Linked DNA regions of Homo sapiens: region 1 is linked to region 2. Evidence: promoter capture Hi-C in human tissues and cell types (Jung and others, 2019). All regions are on one chromosome and are shown on one strand. The core of a region is centred on a gene start or on the middle of the fragment in contact, and the rest is flanking DNA. Distances in the headings are between cores, read along the strand shown.

Region 1 (5,202 bases), core at 1,147-3,646, 81 kb after region 2:
TGGATTTTTAGTAGAGATGAGGTTTCACCATGTTGGCCAGGCTGGTCTTGAACTCCTGATTTCAGGTGATCAGGTGATCCACCCACCTCAGCCTCCCAAAGTGCTGGGATTGCAGGCGTGAGCCACCGCTCCCAGCCCAGGAAATATTTTTACTAATTGTGTGACTTCAGGCAAGTTACAGAACCTCCAGAAACCTTAATTTCCTCATCAGTTATGGAAACAAGATGTACCTTATAAAGAATGTGTTAGCATTAAATGTGATTAAGTGATGGTACATTGCTTGACTCGGAGGTTCCATCCATGGTAATAATTGTAAGTACACTAATATATGTATATATACGTAATACACAAACAAATGTAATACAGTGTCTGTAGACATGCTAATATATGTATACAAGCGTAAGCATAGACGTATACCAAGGTCAAGCCTGTAGTCAGTTCTCAGTCCTCATCTGAGCTCATCAGCACAGGCTGTCCCTCCCTCCTTGACTCTCATCCTTTACTAGGTTTTGGGGACATTCTGCCCTCAGGGTCTTCCACACCTGCAAGGGCCCCTTCTCTTTTTCCTTTTTTCCCCTTTGCCCCAATCCCTAAATGCCACAGAGTTCAATCTTTGACCCCATTCTCTTTCCAATCAACAAGGGGCCTACCCAAGGTGAGAGCAGTGGGACCTGAGGCCCAAAAAGACTGGGCTGGAAAATGGAACAGGTCCCCCAGCATCCCAATGTGCCCGGAAAGGACGACACTCCAGGGGGAAACACCTCCTGCCACGCCCTGGTCTCCAGGGGTGAGCATCCAGGGTACTAGGGCAAGCTGGCTGCTCCCAAAGGCAAGATGGTGCCTCCTACAGGCAAGATGGCAGCCTCCACGGAGGAAGATGGCGGCTACCTTCCACCCACGACCCCGGTCAGCTGCTGCCCGGCCCACCTTGTGCCCACCTTGTGCCCACCTTGTGCGGCGTGTTGACCACAGAGAGGTTGTAGCCGTACTGGAAGGCTGAGCCAAAGGCCGCGCTCAGTGTCGCCAGCAACAGCGTCGGCTGGAGCCGCTGTAGGAGACAAGTCCAAGGTCGGGACGCTGTGGGCTTGGGCCTCGGGAAGTGGAGTGGCTGGGCCTCCACCTCCCTCCAGCCTGGGCTGGAAGTGGGGGATGGGGGATCCCAGGCCGTGCCCCCGGAAAAGAGGAGGAGGTGGCGCAGGGCTGGGGCTTTTGGGGGCTGAGGTCTCTGCACGCATTCATTCCCTCCTTGAGGATGTATCTGAGCATCTGCTACGTGCCTGGCCCTGTACTAGGCCCTGGAGGCCAAGTGTGAAGTAGGGGATGCTTTAGGAAAAAGGCCCAGCAAAGCACTGCCTTTAAGAAGCTCACTTTCTAGTGAGGGGAGCCCACCCCGTCCAAGAAAGACAAAGATGATAATTCCAAATAGCTAGAATGCTGTGAGGACAATAAAATAGGGTGATGGGTGGGGTAGCAGCCTGTGAGGAATGAGAGACTGTGTTCAGTAGGGTGGGCAGGGCAGGGAAGGCCTCTCTGAGCAGGCGCCCTTTGAGCCGGGACCAGAATGGATGAGAGGGAGCAGCTGTGTAAGCATCGGGGGGAAGAGCATCCCAGACAGAGGGACTCATTGCTTGCCTCTGCCTCTAGAACAGGCCCTTAGGAAAATCCCGGCAGTCGCCTGTGCTCAGGGCCAGGCTTTCCATGGTTGCCACAACACCCAGGGCAGCTTGGAGGGGAACTGGCCTGAGGGCCAAAGTCTGAGGAGCAGGTGGGCAGGGTCTCTGACCATGTCCTAGAGCCAAGGCCCTGGTGCATGCCCCCTCCCCACTGCCCCCTCCACCCCTCACTCCTGTTCCACATGTCCTCACCCCAACCCTCACACTTAGCTGCCTGGCTGCCCACAGCCCGTAGCTCTGCACATCCAGGAACAACCAGACAGAAGGGCAGGATTCGGGCATTCTTCAGAGGCCATCTCCCCTCGATCTTTAAGGGTAGGGGAAGCGGAGGGGAGCAGGGGTGGAAGGGAGAGAGGCATCTCCAGCACCATCCGCTCTCCCAGCATTCGCTCAGCCACCCTGGCCCATGTCTGAGCCATGAGGTTTGAGCATAGCTGCTTCTCCACATGGCTCTCCCAGGCCTGGTTATCCTGAAGAAAAAGGAAGCACGCTACCCGCTCCTTGCTAAAAGCATTCCACGGCCTTCACCTCCCTCCACAGGTCTGCACAGCTGGTGGGAGAGGGACAGTGACAGGTTCCTAGTCTTGGCACTTACCCCCTCCCTGGATGGAATGGGTGGAGGGGTTCCCGCCTCTTTGTTCTCCATCCTTGTTCAGGTGGGAGAACAGGTGTGCTCTACCTCCCAAGTGACACCTGCTCTGCGCCAGCCACCTAAAGACCGGCTGTTTCTCCCCTGGGCCTACCTGGCTTTATGATCCTTTTGCTCTCTGGACCCTGCTGACTTTCCCCAGGAGCAAATTCTCCTTGGAAATGTTGATAAGACACACGTTGCCAGTGCACAAATCATACACAGCACGAATTTCGTCTTTGCACCCACCAAGCCCCAAGCCGAAAGCTCCCTAGTTGCACCAAGGAGAGAGAAAAAACATTGCCTGACATTGGTCCGCAGAAATGAGGACTTTCAGAGACCCAGTGAGGCTGTGACCTGGATCTAGGATGCTTTTTCTGTGTCATTTTTCCATGTATGCCTCTTTTTTTTTTGAGACAGGGTCTTCCTTTGTTGCCCAGGCTGGAGTGCAGTGGCGCAATCTCAGCTCACTGCAACCTCGGCTTCCTGGGCTCAAGCTATTCTCCTGCCTTAGCTTCCCAAGTAGCCGGGATTATAGGCACGTGCCGCCACACCCAGCTTTTTTTTTTTTTTTTTTTTTTTTTTGAGGTGGAGTCTCGCTTTGTCGCCCAGGCTGGAGTGCGGTGGCGCAATCTCAGCTCACTGCAAGCTCTGCCTCCCGGGTTCACGCCATTCTCCTGTCTCAGCCTCCTGAGTAGCTGGGACCACAGGTGCCTGCCACCATGCCTGGCTAATTTTTTTTTTGTATTTTTAGTAGAGACGGGGTTTCACCGTGTTAGCCAGGATGGCCTGGATCTCCTGACTTCATGATCTGCCCGCCTCGGCCTCCCAAAGTGCTGGGATTACAGGCGTGAGCCACCGTACCCAGCCTTTTTTTGTGTGTTTTTAGTAGAGATGAGGTTTCACCATGTTGGCCAGGCTGGTCTAGAACTCCTGACCTCTAGTGATCCGCCTGCCTTGGCCTCCCAAAGTGCTGGGCTTACAGGCATGAGCCACCGCACCTGGCTTTTTTTTTTTTTTTAACTTTTATTTTAGGTTCAGGGTATATGTGAAGGTTTGTTACATAGGTAAACTCGTGCCACGGGGGTTTGTTGTACAGATTATTTCATCACCCAGGTATTAAGCCCACTTCCCAGTGTTTGTTTGCTGCTCCTCTCCCTCCTCCCACCCTCCAGCCGGAAGTAGATCCCAGTGTTTGCTGTTCCTTTCTGTGTGTTCCTAGGTTCTTCATATATGCCTCCTCTTGTGCATTTGGACTAATTGTCCATTTGGGGGAAAGAACAAATTAAACACTTTCAGAAAAACACAGTTATTATTTCTAATTACACTAAATAGTGTTAAATAAGTCAATAAAATATTGGACAAAGGTGCTTATTTCAGAATCATTTCTACTAGCATTTTTTTTTTAAAGTAGAGAATGATTGAATAAATTAGGAGTAACTAATTGATTGGAATGCCAGACTTCTGTTTCAAAGGATAATTATGAAATGTGGGAACATGGAAACATTAACATGTTTTTTAATTAACATGACCTTTAAGAGAAGTGATCAAAGCAGAATACACATAGTATACCTGGGGAAGGCCAGGGTGCGGTGGTTCATGCCTATAAGCACAGCACAATGAGAGGCTGAGTGGGTGGAGGATTGCTTGAGCTCAGGAGTTCAAGACCAGCCAGGGCAACATGGTGAAACCTCATCTCTACCAAAAATACAAAAATCAGCTGGGCATGGTGGCATGCCCCCGTGGTCCCAGCTACTTGGGAGGCTGAGGTAGGAGGATCACTGGAAAACAGGAGGCTGAGGCTGCAGTGAGGCATGATCACACCACTGCACTCCAGCCTGGGTGATAGAGCGAGAACCTGTTTCAAAAAAAAAAAAAAAAAAAAAAAGGATACCTGGGGGAAAATGTGTTTGCCCATGGGTGGTAACAGGTGGGTAAATGACAAGACTGAGAGAATGAAAGGTCCTTATTTATGTTTATCCTGCTCCTGCTCCTGACTATGTTGTAGGTATTTTCTCTCTCTCTCTCTTTTTTTTTTTTTTTGAGACAAAGTGTTGCTGTGTTGCCCAGGCTGGAGTGCAGTGGCGTGGTCATGGCTGACTGTCGCTTCCGGCCTCCAGTGTTCAAGCAATCCTCATGCCTCGGCCTCCCAAGTAGCTGGGATTACAGGCGTGCCCCACCATGCCCAGCTAATTTTTGCATTTTTTTTGTTTTTTAGACAGAGTCTCACTCTATTGCCCAGGCTGGAGTGCAGTGGCCAGGAGGAGGAGGTGGCACAGGGCTAGGCGCTCTTGGGGGTGAGAGGCATGTGGTCTCATATGCCTTGGTTCACTGCAACCTCCGCCTCCTGGGTTCAAGTGTTCTGCCTCAGCCTCCTGAGTAGCTGGGACTACAGGCGTGTGCCACTATGCCTGGCTAACTTTCATATTTTTGGTAGAGAGGAGATTTTATAATATAGGCCAGGCTGGTCTCAAATTCCTGACCTCAGGTGATCCACCCTCCTCGGCTTCCCAAAATGCTGGGATTACAGGTGTGAGCCACCTTGCCTGACCATGTATTTTCAATAGAGATGGAGTTTCAGCATGTTGGCCAGGCTGGCGTTGAACTCCTGGCCTCAAATGATCTGTCCACTGCGGCTTCCCAAAGTACTGGTGTTAGAGGTGTGAGCCTCTGCACCCTGCCTGTTGTAGGTATTCTCTAAAGGGATAGGCATTTTCTCCACTCTGCTCCTCCCTCCTTTCTGAGTCCTCACCAGCAGGGTCATTAACATTCATATTTTTACTAACAGTCTGTTCAAGGTAATCTAGGCTTTTTATAGCATGCTTCTAAAAATTCTCCCAGCCTCTTCTCATTGTGCAATGCTAAAGCCATTTACATACTTTTAGCTATTTAGGTATTAAC
Region 2 (5,868 bases), core at 87-2,586:
GCCTGGTGACAGAGAGAGACCCTGTCTCAAAAAAGAAAGAAAGAGAGAAAGAGAGAAAGAAAAGAAAGAGAGAAAGGAAGAAAGAAAGAGAAAAAAGAAAAGGAAGGAAAGCTGAGGCACAGAGCGCTGAGTTGCCCATGGTCACACAGTTAGCAGGTGGCACAGATCCTGTCTAGTTTCAGAATCCTTGTCCTTGAACATGCTTTGCTCTCTCTCTGAGATTCTTTCAGCTCTTGAGCTTTAGAAATGGAAGTTTCCAGCAAGTTCTTTGCAGCAGCTGATGTTCCCTATTAAATGACAGTGGGGAGTCTTAGAAGTATTCGGGAGGCCTACGTTCACCGCTAACATCCTTGTTGTGAAGGCCTGCTGACGTTTGCCATTCCAGGACCAAGTGGACAATGAGTTAAGCTAGGCCAGGAGGGGGTTCAGCTCCCCATAACAAGGCAGGGGTGGCCCTTTGTGTCCGGCAGCATGGTAGCCCCCCCGCAGGAGCTCCGGCTACCCTTTGTGTTTGACCTTGTGGAAGGGCATGGGAAATGCTGGCCTGTCAGCAGGCATAAACTCAAAAGTTTCTCCTTCAGCTAATTTCAGGGACTGTCTAGCCAAGTGAATACACAGGATTAGGTAATCCATGGATCCTGCGAGGGCAATTGGCTGATTGGCTTAGGTGTGCCCAAGAGCCCTGCAGGTGTCAGAACAAATCCATGTAGAAATGCAGACGCCCACACCAGCTTGAATGGCATAAAGGCACACATTGGAATGTGGCTCATGAGCTGGGACCCAGGATCAACCACTGGTTTAAGGAGAGGACCGTGAAATGTCCAAACATGGAGGCCAGGCCACCTCCCTGGATGCCTGGCTGAGGGCAGCCACATGTCTGCAGCGGTGGCTTGTGTCCATGACTGAGATGGGCAGGGTTTGCAGGCAGTGGTGATCCCATCAGCAGTCCCCAGATCTCTAATGTCAGGAGAAAGAGCATGGGAAGTCCGACGTCCAGGAAAGTCTTTCATCCTGCTTCTCCCTGCCTTGGGCCTTTTCCCATTTCCGCGGTCACCTGTCCACAATGGCTGCACTGTGTGGCTCTTCAGGTGTTCCTAAGACACTGAACAACCAAACCCATGGACTGACCGGATATGAAATTGACGTGGGAGGAGATCAGGCAGGTGCTGGGGCTGCCTGGCGCAATGCACGGAGCCAGAAGTGCTGTTATGGGGAGGGTGTTATTGTTTTAGTGGGTGCAGCAAAGGGTGGTTTAGCCAGCTGGGCAGATCAATTGTAAATTGTTATTTACAGTTTCTGAGCCTTTAAAAGAAGAGCTTCGCCGGAATCAGTCTTCATTACAGATGTGCAGCACCATGAGGGCCCTGGTGCTTCTGCTGTCCCTGTTCCTGCTGGGTGGCCAGGCCCAGCATGTGTCTGACTGGACCTACTCAGGTGAGCCCCTAGCTTCTGCATGCTCCCCCAGTTACCCTCACACCCTTACAACAGGACAAGTGCCCTTCTTCTTCTTCTTTTTTTTTTTTTTAGACAAAGTCTTGCTCTGTTGCCCAGGCTTGAGTACAGTAGTGTGATGTTGGCTCACTGCAACCTCCGCCTCCCGGGTTCAAGTGATTCTGCTGCCTTAGCCTCCCGAGTACCTGGGATTACAGGTGCCTGCCACCATGCCTGGCTAATTTTTGTATTTTTAGTAGAGACAGGGTTTCACCATGTTGTCCAGGCTGGTCTCGAACTCCTGACCTTAGGTGATCTGCCCATCTCCCAAAGTGCTGGGATTACAGGCATGAGCCATTGCGCCCGGCCAAGAGTCCTCCTTTAGGGCATTTCACAGGATGGCCAGGCAGCCCACTTGCCATATGTTGGGGGTCTGCTCATTGTGGCTTCAGATGTTACCTTTTCAGTGTCTCAGAAGGTATGGAGAATAAGCTGAACTTAAACTTCAAATAAGGAAAAGAAGGAAATAGCTTTCCCCTTCACAAACTCCTGATTTACTTACAGGCTTTTTGCTTTAAATTTTTTTCCATCCACAGTGTTGGCTGGTTCAAAAGCACACTCACTGCTTCTATTTGTAAAACCATTTGCTTTGTTGGTCCGTGTAAGTGGAAAACAAAGTTCTTAGAAAAGACTCTCGGTAACCTCACGGAAGGTGCTGTGGGGTTTGCGAGACCTTCTTTCTTGGAAATTTCATGGTAGGCAGTTTACCCAGAACATCTTGACATAAGGACCCAGTTCCCTTTGATCTGTGGGCTGCCAAAATGAGAGGTGTTTTTTTTTTTGTTTTTTTTTTTTTTTTGAGACAGAGTCTTGCTCTGTTGCCCAGGCTGGAGTTCAGTGGTGCCATCTCGGCTTACTGCAACCTCTGCCTCCTGGTTTCAAGCGATTCTCATGTCTTAGCCTCCCAAGTAGCTGGGATTACAGGCACTCATCACCATGCCTGGCTAACTTTTGTATTTTTAGTGGAGATGGGGTTTTACCACGTTGGCCAGGCTGTTCTCAAACTTCTGACCTCAAGTGATCCGCCCACCTTAGCCTCCCAAAGTGCTGGGATTACAGGCGTGAGCCACCGCGCCAGGCCCCAAACCAGACTTTTAAAATGTGAAATGTAAAATCCTGGCATTCAACATGGGTTCTGGTCCACATGTGAGCCAAAGCTAGAAGGCCGTGTCTGTGGACTTTGTGGACACTAAACAGCCCTTTCCAGGGGCAGTGAGGAGAGCTTCTTCCCGCATCCCCCTTCTTTCCATACGGGACCATGGATTGGGGCCCATGAGGAGGCTGGTGGCCGCTGGCTGATGCAGGAAGTGAGACAAACATCTGCTTCCTGCAGAGTCTGCCCCAGTTCAGCTGCTCCGGAAGCATTCCTTCAGGGTGAACGGGATGATCTGTTAAGTCAAGGGCAACGGAATTAGGGACATCCTGGGAGGTTCAGAAAGTCCAGCCAGCTCTGAACAACCGCTCTGTTCCTGAGGACAGTGATCTTACACATGGCAGTGCCTCGGAAGCCTGGGGCATTCTGCTTCACTTGGCCAAGCAGTGCAGGCAGGTGGTTCAGAGGTGAAGGAAGAGAGAATTCAGACAATGAAGTCCTTGTCCTTCCCAGGCTCTGCCCAGCCTCTGAGACAGTGGGCTTCCTGGGAAACTACTAGGGGCTCCAGGAGAACTTGAGAGTAGCTTTTGTAAATGCCTTCCAGGGAAACCTGAGAGATGTTCCAGTATTGACAGTGCCCTGGGCCAAAGCATCTTGCTCTGAGAAGGCGTTGTGCTCCAGGCCAATTGCCTTGATTACAAACCAAAAAGCGGTGAGGGCCCTAGTACAGACACCTTTTTTTTTTTTTTTGAGAGTTTCACTCTCGTTGCCCAGGCTGGAGTGCAGTGGCGCGATCTCGGCTCACCGCAACCTCTGCCTCCTGGGTTCAAGTGATTCTCCTGCCTTAGCCTCTCAAGTAGCTGGGATTAACGGCATGTGCCACCATGCCCGGCTGATTGTTTTTTATTTTTAGTAGAGATGGAGTTTCTCCAGGTTTGTCAGGGTGGGTCTCGAGCTCCCAACCTTAGGTGATCCACCCGCCTCGGCCTCCCAAAGTGTTGGGATTACAGGCATGAGCCACCGTGCCCAGCCACAAACACCTGTCTTAAAACAAGCTGTGTACTCACCACACAGCTACCCCCGAACAGGGAACAGAGGTGGGATTCTCCATGTCACATGGCTGACTCCAAGCTCCACAGCTGTATGGGAGCCAAGTCACCATGATAATCACTCACCTATGTTACTCTGTCCCCTACGATTATCAACCCTCTCTGAAAAGATAAACTTTCTCCTTATGAATTTTAAAAAAGTACTCATTCTAGGTTGTCCTGGAACCTGATGCTTCCTTAGTTTCCCTGAATCCATAAGTGTAGACACCTAGATGGTCTTTACCATACGGGAATCCATAAAAGGGGCTGGAGCAAGAAAATAGTGGTGGGGGGTTCCTGCAGCATGGGGAGGTGGGGGCTGTGTTCCTGTTGGGGGCATGGAAGGACAACTGGGCCCTTGGGAGGAAATGAGGAAGAGGCCCCAGGAGCAGCACAGGAAGAGCAAAGCCAAGGATCCCTCCATGCATTCACCAGCTGGAAATAAGTCAAACGAGAGCAAAAATTTACGTATAAAACACTCTCAGGCCGGGCACGGTGGCTCACGCCTGTAATCCCAGCACTTTGGGAGGCCAAGGTGGGTGGATCACCTGAGGTCAGGAGTTAGAGATCAGCCTGGCCAACATGGTGAAACCCCGTCTCTACTAAAAATACAAAAATTAGCCAGGCGTGGTGGTGCATGCCTGTAATCCCAGCTACTCCGGAGGCTGATGCCGGATAATCTCTTGAATCTGGGAGGCAGAGGTTGCAGTGAGCCAAGATTGCACCACTGCACTCCAACCTGGGTGACACAGCGAGACCCTGTCTCAAAAAAAAAAAAAAAAGACTTCCATTGATTTCAAAACACTGTCTTGCTCCCAGGGCCAGCAGTTGCCACAGGAAAGTTAGAGGTTAGCACCAAAGCCCCCCAAACACCAGAGTCCTTGGAGTTGACCTCGTTGTCTTTTTGGCCTCCTTCTGGGGGACCTGCTTCTGCTTTCTGGAAGGTGCCTCCGTGGGTCCCCGCCCAGCAGGCCCTGGCCTCTGGCCTCTGGCCTGGTGAGGTTCCTCCAGAGTGGGCGCAGCCAGGCAGCCCCTTGAACTGTGTCTTTCCTGTCTTAGAAGGGGCACTGGACGAAGCGCACTGGCCACAGCACTACCCCGCCTGTGGGGGCCAGAGACAGTCGCCTATCAACCTACAGAGGACGAAGGTGCGGTACAACCCCTCCTTGAAGGGGCTCAATATGACAGGCTATGAGACCCAGGCAGGGGAGTTCCCCATGGTCAACAATGGCCACACAGGTAAGAGGAAGGGGTGGTGAGGGGCTCCAGTCCATGGGCAGCCTGCAGGGGAAGGCAGGTTACACGTGTCCCTGCCAGGAATGGCTTGCACAGAGACACAGAGCACGGCCTCAGAGCTGGAGGCCTCGAACATGAGGGTCGAACATGAGGGCTGACTGGCCCCGAAACCTAGTGGCTCTTCCAGAGAGGGCAGCATCCATCTTTCGACTCAACTCCCTGCTGGTCCCTTCCTGCAGCGTTATCCTCTTACCCGAGCTCACCCAACCCACCCAGCAGGTGACAGGCAGGACAGGCCGTGCTGCTGAAGCCACCCTTCCCACGGGGGCTTTCTGTCCATCACCTTGGGTCAGCTTTTCCACATTTCCTATATTGAGTCTATTCAGCTCAAAGCACCTGACAGGTAGGACCAGGGTTTCTCAGAGTTTTAAGAAGAAAGCTCTGGCTTTCTGATCCCTACAAGAAAGAAGGTGAAGGTCAGACAGAAAAAGCAGGGCCGTGGGGATGCCCCACTTCAGGAATCCGATATGAGAAACTGTAAATTTTGTTTATTTTTTTGAGACAGAGTCTCACTCTGTTGCCCAGGCTGGAGTGCAGTGGCAGGATCTCAGCTCACTGCAACCTCCACCTCCTGGGTTCAAGCGATTCTCCTGCCTCAGCCTCCTGAGTAGCTGGGATTACAGGCATGCACCACCATGCCCAGCTAATTTTTTTTGTATTTTTAGTAGAGACGAGGTTTCACCATGTTGGCCAGGCTGGTCTGGAACTCCTGACCTCAAGTTATCTGCCCACCTTAGCCTCCCCAAAGTGCTGGGATTACAGGCACGAGCCACCATGCCCGGCCTGGAAACTGTGAAATCTGTGCTTTACTTGTGCAGAATATCCTCCTGATTTTCCAAGTTGGCTCGACTCCTCTGAGCCTCATGACCACCCCAGGAGGGGGCATTTTTTAGGCAGGAA

The links. Contacts are between HindIII fragments. The study calls those that stand out against the background at their distance.
Region 1: the fragment with the promoter of SLC2A7 here is called in contact with the fragment with the promoter of CA6 in region 2 in 3 of the 25 tissues and cell types used here (IMR-90 fibroblasts, adrenal gland and mesenchymal stem cells).

Annotation. Positions count from the first base shown.
Region 1 is chr1:9,024,027-9,029,228 of GRCh38, forward strand. SLC2A7 (solute carrier family 2 member 7) reads right to left here and starts at 2,397. Exons shown (of 12, transcript NM_207420.3): 1 at 2,269-2,397; 2 at 950-1,048. The coding sequence starts at 2,319. The HindIII fragment of the contact is 20,163 bases long and covers 1-5,202 here.
Region 2 is chr1:8,944,532-8,950,399 of GRCh38, forward strand. CA6 (carbonic anhydrase 6) reads left to right here and starts at 1,337. Exons shown (of 8, transcript NM_001215.4): 1 at 1,337-1,434; 2 at 4,732-4,911. The coding sequence starts at 1,356. The HindIII fragment of the contact is 10,958 bases long and covers 1-5,868 here.